2 separate regions of the Homo sapiens genome follow, and region 2 is linked to region 1. Evidence: promoter capture Hi-C in human tissues and cell types (Jung and others, 2019). All regions are on one chromosome and are shown on one strand. The core of a region is centred on a gene start or on the middle of the fragment in contact, and the rest is flanking DNA. Distances in the headings are between cores, read along the strand shown.

The links. Contacts are between HindIII fragments. The study calls those that stand out against the background at their distance.
Region 2: a fragment that was not itself captured here is called in contact with the fragment with the promoter of CDH8 in region 1 in 3 of the 25 tissues and cell types used here (aorta, dorsolateral prefrontal cortex and hippocampus).

What each region holds. Positions count from the first base shown.
Region 1 is chr16:62,034,343-62,038,892 of GRCh38, reverse strand. CDH8 (cadherin 8) reads left to right here and starts at 2,455. Exons shown (of 12, transcript NM_001796.5): 1 at 2,455-2,813. It overlaps LOC124903777 (a long non-coding RNA gene), which reads right to left and starts at 2,303. Exons shown (of 2, transcript XR_007065217.1): 1 at 2,116-2,303; 2 at 1,460-1,680. RefSeq lists an enhancer at 4,153-4,550. The HindIII fragment of the contact is 11,196 bases long and covers 1-4,550 here.
Region 2 is chr16:61,812,989-61,817,538 of GRCh38, reverse strand. CDH8 (cadherin 8) reads left to right here. Exons shown (of 12, transcript NM_001796.5): 7 at 1-60. Among named protein-coding and RNA genes, the nearest start is that of CDH8-AS1, 100 kb to the left of the region's middle. The HindIII fragment of the contact is 4,777 bases long and covers 1-4,480 here.

The sequences.
Region 1 (4,550 bases), core at 1,206-3,705:
TTGCATTAGTCAGCCAAGGTTATTCTGAATGCAATCTTCTCTCCCTCCCCCCAACTCCTTCTCCAATTATACTCCTGCCCTATCAGATAATTCCTCACCCTTCCTCCCCCGCAATGCTCCACAACACATGCAATTTCACTTGCCATTCTAAAAAGCCTATGTACCACAGTCCTCTTCCCGCTGGAAGGCTGTAACCCTGGAGAGGATGTTGAAAAGAAAACACTTTCTTAAGGGGGTAGGCTTTCACCATTGTGACATTACACTGCATCTTATTAAGAGTGGGTGGAATTGTTAAAGAGATAAATGCCTTGTCTTTCAGCATCCCTGATTATTTTAGAAATATCCTTATAGGGCTTTCTAACATTATCCTAATCCTCTATCACACTGCTTAATCATCCAAACCTCTCTTAAGAATTAGTCAGGAAATTCCTATTGTAACGCTTTGAGCAGATATTAGCAGGTATAGACAGGTTACCCTGAATTCCAGAGGACCAAAATTCAGGGAAGACAATGTATATAACTGCTGTAAGAGTAAATATGGACAAGATGAGTCAAAGCAAACTCTTCTTAACCCTAGATACCCAAAGCCATTGGATTCTGGCTCTCTTTAAAAGCCATTGGATTCTGACTATCTTTACTATGTCAGCATAGTTTGTTAAGAAAATGAGATTTGAGGATATTGTCTAACAATCTGGCTTTTTTTTTTTTTTTTGAGACAAGTTTGTTACTTGTGACAATCCCCAGCTTTCAGTAGCACATGAGTTTTTTTGAGTTTTCATAGATGTAAGAAGTTACCCCAAGGAACGGTTCAAATTATTTGTTCAAGTGAAAATGAATATCTGAAATTAAGCACAACCCAAAATGTGATCTATTTCTTTGTCCACTTGGGACTGTCTGGTCTAGCAGCAGTTATAATTTGATTGAGCCTTGACTGCTGCTCCTTTTTCCAAGACAGAATTAGCCAATTCCAATACCCTGTAAGCAGACACAGTCTGAGAAGAGAACAAACAGTTACTTAGTGACTGCCTGGGGGAAAAAAAATACCACTTGGTTCTCTTCACCTCTCCCTCTCTGAAATAATCCACTAAGTTTCTTGCCTATGACAGCTAGAACATGAAACAATCAGATATTAGAGCTACAGCCAATACTCTTTTTCACATTTCACAATGGGTTGTCAGATGCAGCACACAAAAAAATGTCAAATTTGCATAAATATCATAAGCATGTTGTGCCTATTTTCTCATTCTGTTCACTCTTTCTCATTAATTTGAGTGAGACAGTACAAGCTCTACAGACTGTGCGTCTTGTCCCCTGCACCTTTTTCCCCCTTCTGTTCTTGCTCTGTCCCCAGATGGTAAAATCCACCCTCAGGCTCACGTCTAGTGCACACAGGGAAGGGACTAAATCGGGATCTCCTGTGGAGGGGAGGGTTTTTTTTTTTAAGGTAAGAATTTATTTGTCTTATATTTATCTAATTTTATTAGAAGATGATGACTGTGGCATCGTCTACATGTTAGCCCCAGTGTTGAAAAAGAAAAGAAATCTGGACCTCCTGATTCATGGTCCCTTTTACCCCAGGGTGGCCATTTCTCAAGATCTGAGCGCAGCCCATCAGAAGACTTGAAGTGACCACAGACAGGGCAGGTCTTGGTGGAGGCAGGAGAACCGCAAGGATGGTATCTGAGAGGATATGACAAGATCAGGGCACATTGAGAAGACCTAGAAATTCCTCCCCTATTTCCCAAGCAAGTTCTGCTTTGCCTGCCCTCCTCCCCACAACCAACTACTGCGCGCCCCTCCTGGCTGCCACTCTGCTGTCCCTCATCCCATTTTCCCAAAGGAGCACGGGGACATCAGGAATGCGCTCCATCACAGAACCGCGACACACAGCCTCTACATAGCGTCTGAGTTGCAGGCAGGGGTCTCACAATCACCCTATTCTGTACGCAAGAGGCCCTTGGAATAAAGAGGAGGTAAGCTGCCCACGCTCAACCCTTTGCCCTGTCGCGTCCTCTTCCTCCTACGGAAAATAGCTGCGGGTCACTGAGACGCTTTTCAACATAACGCCAGCCCCAGAGCTCAGGTGAGACCTCTAGAGAGAAAGCTCGCAGGTACCTCATCCGCATGCTGTTATTATCTGCCAGCCCACTTATCCAGGAGCTCGGTCCTCAGCGGGCTGCGCGCACCGCGCGGAAGGGCGCATCTTCACCTCGTGGCTCTGGCGGCAGAGACGCGCGGGGCTTGCTCGGGAGCGAGGAGCGAAAAGTTGTGCGCCCACTTGGGTAGGGGGAAAGAGAGCGATCGAGCCAGCGCGGGAGAGCGAAGGGGGAAGGCGGGGAGGGGGCGGGGAGGGGGGACTGCTTACATGAATTTCCAAGTGGTAGACCTGCCTCTGCGCTCTGCCCAATGAGATCCGTCAGGGGAGGCACCCGGCTCACTTTTCCACATCACTTCACAGTTACATTTGGCAGGCAGGCGGGCTCGCACGCCGGAGCGCTCAGCCCAGAATTAGTGGATTTATTTGGAATCTCCCTGCCTCCTCCAAGCTCCGCCGCCGCCGCCGGCTTGTGCATAGACGGTAGCGTCAAGACACCAGCTGCACTTTGGGTTGCGGACACCCAGAGCCCAGCGCGCCCGCCCTGCGTCTCCGCACCAAGCCCTGTAGCTCCGAGAGGCATGAACGGAATCCGGAGGCGCCTGCCTAGCGAGCGAGGACCGGTCGGCGCTTGCCGCCCTCGGGAGCTAACCCCGAGCACCTCCAGCCATTTGTGAACCTGGAGGCTTGACATTCGCCAGCGCAGGGCCCCACAAGAGTAAGTGTTCCCCTAACCCACCCCCGTTTTCCTCTATGTTCCGACTATCCAGAAGGGACCGTTTCTTATAGGAATTCCCATGCCCCTTCGGACACCTTGCGCGCCTCCTGCCCCTCAGATGGTGGATGAGGGTTCTTAGCATAGGCTCTGGGCTAAGCTGTGTCTTTCGCGATATCCGTGGGTGATAACGTACGTACGCCTCAAGGTTTTGCCTGACTGTTTTTGCAAACTGCTTTGACAACAGATCCTAGAGAGTAGCAAGCTCCAGGCTGTGCCCCTCCAGTTTTCCTGCCGGTTTCCTTCCCTGCGGCGACTTGGCTATTTCGCCGCTTCCCAACGCAGGCAGGCGCGGCTGCAGCCGCGCGCCTTCACTGCGGGGTCCGTGCGGTGAATGGGAAGCACCTGCAGCCCGCTGTGCGGAGGGTGCAAGCCAGGGAAAAAAGGAGGCGAGGGGGCCCGAGTGGTCTATGGCTGGTTTTCTGCACCGCCTCATCTCCGAGGCGAGGGAGGGCGACCCCCGCGGCAGGGCTGCGGGCCAAGGCTCAGCTGCGAAAGCCCCAGCGCGAGGCTTTCCCACAAGTGGCAGCTCCAGCTCTGGGAGGTGCGGTGCCCGCTACAAACTTGCCGGGCTCCGGAGTCGCCCTGCGGCTCTGCCCTCGCCAAGACGCTGCCCAGCACCCCTGCAGGACCCCCAGGCAGTGTCTCCCCGCAACTCGAGATTGCGTGCACGGAGGCCCCCTTAAGCCGGGGACTCCGTAGCCGCTCTCCTAGGGACAGCTGAGCCCAGACCTGCGCTTTCTGTGGTCTGGCCGCTTCTCATCCGGGAACCTTTGAGGGGCTGGTCGCGCCCCTCGCAGGATCGGAGGGAAAAAGGCTCTTGCCTAGGTTCTGCCAGTACGTAAGAGGTTCATAAGGGACCTACTCCGGTTCTCCCAGGATCCAGCCAAGGCTGGGAAACGGTAAAAAAACGTGCTGCCGCCAACGCTGATGCCAACAGGTATCCACAATTTCCTCCGCTTATTCCTCCCAAACACCAGAGCCTTCCCCCACCCAGTCTGGCAGAATCCTCAAAGTTTCCTTGCGGTTGACCCTTCCCCCGCAGGCACGGAGCCGGCGGCATGTCAAGGACTAGCCGTTTGCCTCCACCAGCGGAGATGGCAGCTGTTTGCTTGGGTTGCTAAATGTAAGAAATCAAACCACATTAATTGTTTATTGTTGCAAACGCACAATATTAGTCCGTAATGGAAAATCGGGCTGGCAGCTGCTCACTTCAGCACCAATTAAACGATAGAGCTTATCACCAAGACAGCGGGAGGGAGGAAAGGTCCTTTCAACTTTACCACCCTTTCCTGAAGATTCCACAAGAGTTTCCTCCTTAGGAGGCATGATTCGACAATCCCTTAGCGCGCCCGAGCTGCTAATCAGATCAGCTGCTTTCTTTCACCTGGCGTCATGATATCTGGGGGCTGACAATGGGAACGAGGGGACGCTAGGGAAGGTAAGCGAGAGTACTGTCCTCTCGCATCCGGTACCATCGCAAAGCAGATCCGAGGGATGGGGGCTGGCTTTTGAAGCGCCTGTTCTCTTTACAACACTCCTGACAGCCATCTCAATGGTTAAAAACCCTCCTTGGGCTGTCACCTCAGGCTTTATTATAGGAGCTTTTCAACTGGAAAACTATATGTGGGAAAGATGTTTATGTAAGATTCGAAAGTGGGATTTTCCATCCATTCAGCC
Region 2 (4,550 bases), core at 843-3,342, 220 kb after region 1:
AAACTCCGTGATTGGGCAAGTGACTGCTCGTGACCCTGATATCACTTCCAGTCCTATAAGGTATTTTTATTTTAAAAGGAATACTGGCTACTGCAAATGACAAGCAGATCAGTGAAAAATGCCTTTGCTTGTACCTTCTGTGGGGCTCTCCTTGGGACTATGCTCACATGACCAAATAATGTTGGTTGGCACATACTGTGTGTGTGTGTGTGTGTGTGTGTGTGTGGTGTGTACACGCACACGTATGCCTACTAAGTGCTACATAGAGCCCAGAGCCAGGAACAATAAGATGAATACAGCTATTCCAGCTCTTAGAGAGCTCTATGAAAATGCAAAGTTGCAAATGTTTGCAATACATTTGGGTGGATCTTGTTATTTTTATGTTTTTGTTTGTTAGTGCTTTTTTTGTTTGTTTGTTTAGCTTTGGGGAAGCATTGCTAGTTTGTCCTCTGTCTCTTTTGACAGTTATGGTGAATTATATATTAGAATTTAGAGGCACGAGACCATAGTGTCAATGCATTAAGAGGCTCCTATTTTATTTCTGCATTTGGTGTTTGGCTTTGAAATGATCTTTTTATTACTTCTTGGACATTTCTGATAGGTCAGCATATCTGGTTTGGTGTCTCCTAGATAAAAATCTTTCTCTGCCATTTCAAAAATACCCTCTGTTTATAGTTTTTCTGCTCAAAATTTTTCCCCAGGATGCGAAATAATTCTTTATTAAAGCTTTTCTGTCTTTTTTAGAAATGAAGCTCCATTCGATTTTTTTTTTCTGTTGTACTGTACACATCTTTTTTCTTTTTCCAGTCACCCAAATGACAGTACAGGTTCTCCAGCTAAATAGCTTTCTCCTGAAAGCACACTGAAAATCTATAACTTCTATGCTGGTCTCCAAGGGTGAAGTGTTGGCTAATGATGTGTTTTGAGTGTGGATTTCAAATATTGTCTTACAAATATTTGTTGCAAAATCAAGGAGATAGAGAGTAAGAAGTAGATGGAGGAATACAATTTTAAAGAATTGTCCAGCTGATTTCTGAGTTTGATGTCAGCTCATACCAAACCCTTTCAATTTACAAGTCACAAATAACTAGGGCAGACCTGCTTCCAATTACTTCATTTGGGGAAACCCTGGTAAAGTGAGTTATCTGTCGGTTTATTTATTCGATTTTTTAAAAAATGTATTAAATTCCTGTTACTCACAAGGGTGCTGAGACTATGAGGCTGAGATTAAAACCTTGCAGGACAATCAGCACCCCAAATAAGTTGAATTTGTACAAAAATTATTTACAGACCCAGAAGAGCACTTTTTGTTTTTAAGTACAAATCATTTCTAAATTCAGAATAACAAATAAGACTACAGCCAATAAGTATGCAAAGAAGACTCTTCCTGCAGAAGAGTCTAACCTCTAAGAAGATGAAACTACCTGGGGATTTGAGAAATGGTCCATTGGCCATTCTCAGTTCTAAAGAAATTTCACAAACTATAGACATATGCAAAAAATAAGGGTATTTGGCTAAGAAAATTATATCTATTAATGGGCCAATGTTGAATGCAATGGGAGGAATATCCAAAAAAAAATTTACATTGGCATTAATTTCCGGAAAATATAGTGAAATTATGCAATGGCTTTATGCTGGAATGCTGACATTAATGGGGACAATGATATTTGTTGAGTGGATGAATCTGCCCTGTTCCTATGTTTCTCAATTTCCTCTGAAAGGAACTCAAAAAGGAGTAGTTGCCACATCCTTTACATCTCCAAGCAGGAGAAAGAATGTGAAGGGAGGAAATGAGATTGGTTCAACTGAGACACCAATCAGAGGACCGGTTTTAGTGCTTGATTTGACAAGGTTTCTACTCTTGTCAGCCAGGAGCATGTAAGGGCTTCAGAGTCTGCCAAGCCAAGGGTCCTTAGGGAAAATAAGGGTTCAGATATCAGCACAATAATATAAGCTCCCAACATGGACTACATGGTACCAGTGGGAATGGACTGGCTGTGCAGAGACACGATCTTAATCATCTAGAGATGAGGCTTAAGGAACTTTCATGCCATAGTAAAAGTAGCATCTTATTGGCAGAGCTAGCTATAAATCCAGGTTCATAGTTGTCCACATATGGTTGCACATTTTATAATCTATTCATTTTACTGATGTAAAAATGGAGATTTACTGATACTAATTCCAGTTCACAGGGAATCAAGAGAAGATTCTCATTGTAGTTGCTAGTTATTATTATTGCTATTGCTACTTTTATTACTGTTACTGGCAGGAAAGTTTGTGTAGAGGAAGCTTGAGGCTGTTTAGAAATAACTGTCCAGCTTAGAAGCATTTCATTTTCAGGAAAGCTAAAGGGGATTTGAGACTGTTTTTACCAGGAAGAGATGGACAGATAAAGCACTATTTGATGACACAGGCATATCTGTGCTTCTGATAGATGTCAGGCAAGTGCTAGTTCTTCAGCATCTATGGTTCTACCCAAAGAAGGGACAAATGCTGTTTCAAAGCATTTACAGCAGCCTTTGGCATGTCATTCAGAAGGGGGAGCCCACACATTTTTTATTAAACCTGGCTTGGCTCCATGGGATGAGAACTTAAGAATCACAAACCATATTTTTCAACATCTGTTCTGCAGTTCTACAGTCCTCTGCCCCCACCTCCACCCCAGTTGGATCATGGAGAGCAGCTTCCCTCTCTCTATGCACAATTGGTTAATTTCAGAAGAAAATTAAATTTCCTGACTAGCCAGAGCAATGCATAGTTCCTTATGAGTCTAGCAGACAGATTTAGAGCCATTTAACCTTTTTAGACAGAACCAGAGGATATGGATATTCAGGGAATTATTGGGTAACACATAGCTATGCATTATTTTCTCTTTAGGACTGTTGTATTTTATACACTGACAAGAATGTATCCATCTTTTAGGATAACGTTTAATTTGCTATCCAGCAAGAAATAGGCAGTTATCCCAGCATCTGCCATGCTAAAACATACAGTTATTTGTTGGTTGGTTGGCTTCTCACGCGGTTCAATTTCTTTTTAGAGCACATTGTCAAGCTAGAAATATCATGTATTTTTGACTTCTTATACCTACTACTATATCTCTATCTGTATGTATTTGTCTGTATATTCCTTTACGGGGGAAAATGAAAAGTGACATAGAGAAAAATCCGTCATCTTACCCTCTCACTTGCAGGAACATTAATTAGTTCCTTGCTACTTTCTGCAATACTATGTCTTTCACTAATGTAAAATAAAGTTGTGTAAATTATTTAAAATATGACATATTTTGAATTTAGGGAGACTAAGGTTGAAATCATATCACTACTACTTCCCAGTCGGAGAACTAGTCTCTGGAATTCTCTGAGATTCAGTTTTCTCCTCCGTATGGGATAATATCATCTTTCTTGCAGTGTTAATGAGATGATTAAGTGACAATATTGAATAAAATATGTGGTAGCTAGTAGGGTTACCAGTTAATAAAAGGTAAGCCACCATCAATTTCACATCTTAAATGCAAATTAAGAACCTAAAACTTATTTTAGTAGAGATTCATCTAGGTGGCTGTGTGCAGAATTGTGTTTTTTCTTTGACAGCTATAGGCTAAATAGTCTAATTGATCTCATTTAGTCTTATTTTCTCCTGCTACTGCTACGGATGTTGTTACTAGTGAGTGCTTGGTATATATCAGGACCTGTGCAACATATACTTGTTTCATTCTCTAACACTTCTAGTATATATATGTGGAGTCATTATGTTGCAGCTAAAGCTGGGTTCTTATCACATAACAAGGAAAATTTAGGTACGCAGACACATTAAAAGGTGAGTAGGACAGGATTTTATTGGGCAAAAAGGGAAAAAAAAACAGCAAAGCAAGATAAGAGTCATGCTAACAGGCTCCCCACCTCACAGATTGAATCCTCCCGGCTAGGACACGGAACTGGAGACCAGGCTTCTCCCCCTGCCCGTGGCTCCACCCTGTTCCCCCAGTGCGCATGTAGACATGCTCAGACACAGCCCTGGGCCAGTTCCCTCATCTGCACAAGAGCATCTGATGTAAACACTTGCGGGGCAGGCCGGAGATTCTCCAAGGGCCTTTTATCAGCTTAGGCATTTGGCTGTCTCGGTTATACCCATTTAAGAGATGTGAAACCTGAGGATTAAAGAACTAACTTGCCCAGTATCACACAAATAGTTAGAAGTGGAACTGGGGTGTGCACTTGGGTCTTATGATGGTGCCATGCCTATCCCCAGTCCTTTCTTTTCCTTGTGATCTCTGTAACTCGTCAACTGGGCCTATAAGCTTTAGGATGACTGAGTAGGACCAATTATAATGGAAATAATTGACTATTCATTCTCTAAATGACCTCACTGAATATCAGGAAAGAAGAAAAATAAACCAAATCTGTGGAATTAACCAGAGTATAAATGCTGTGATCTTTGCTCATCTGCCTAGCCACCTGGTATGGGTTTGTTATTATTGGCTGTGAACCAGATTGTGATGGGCAAGGTAAAGGAGAAAACAATGTTATTTTTATTTGATGAATCCGACA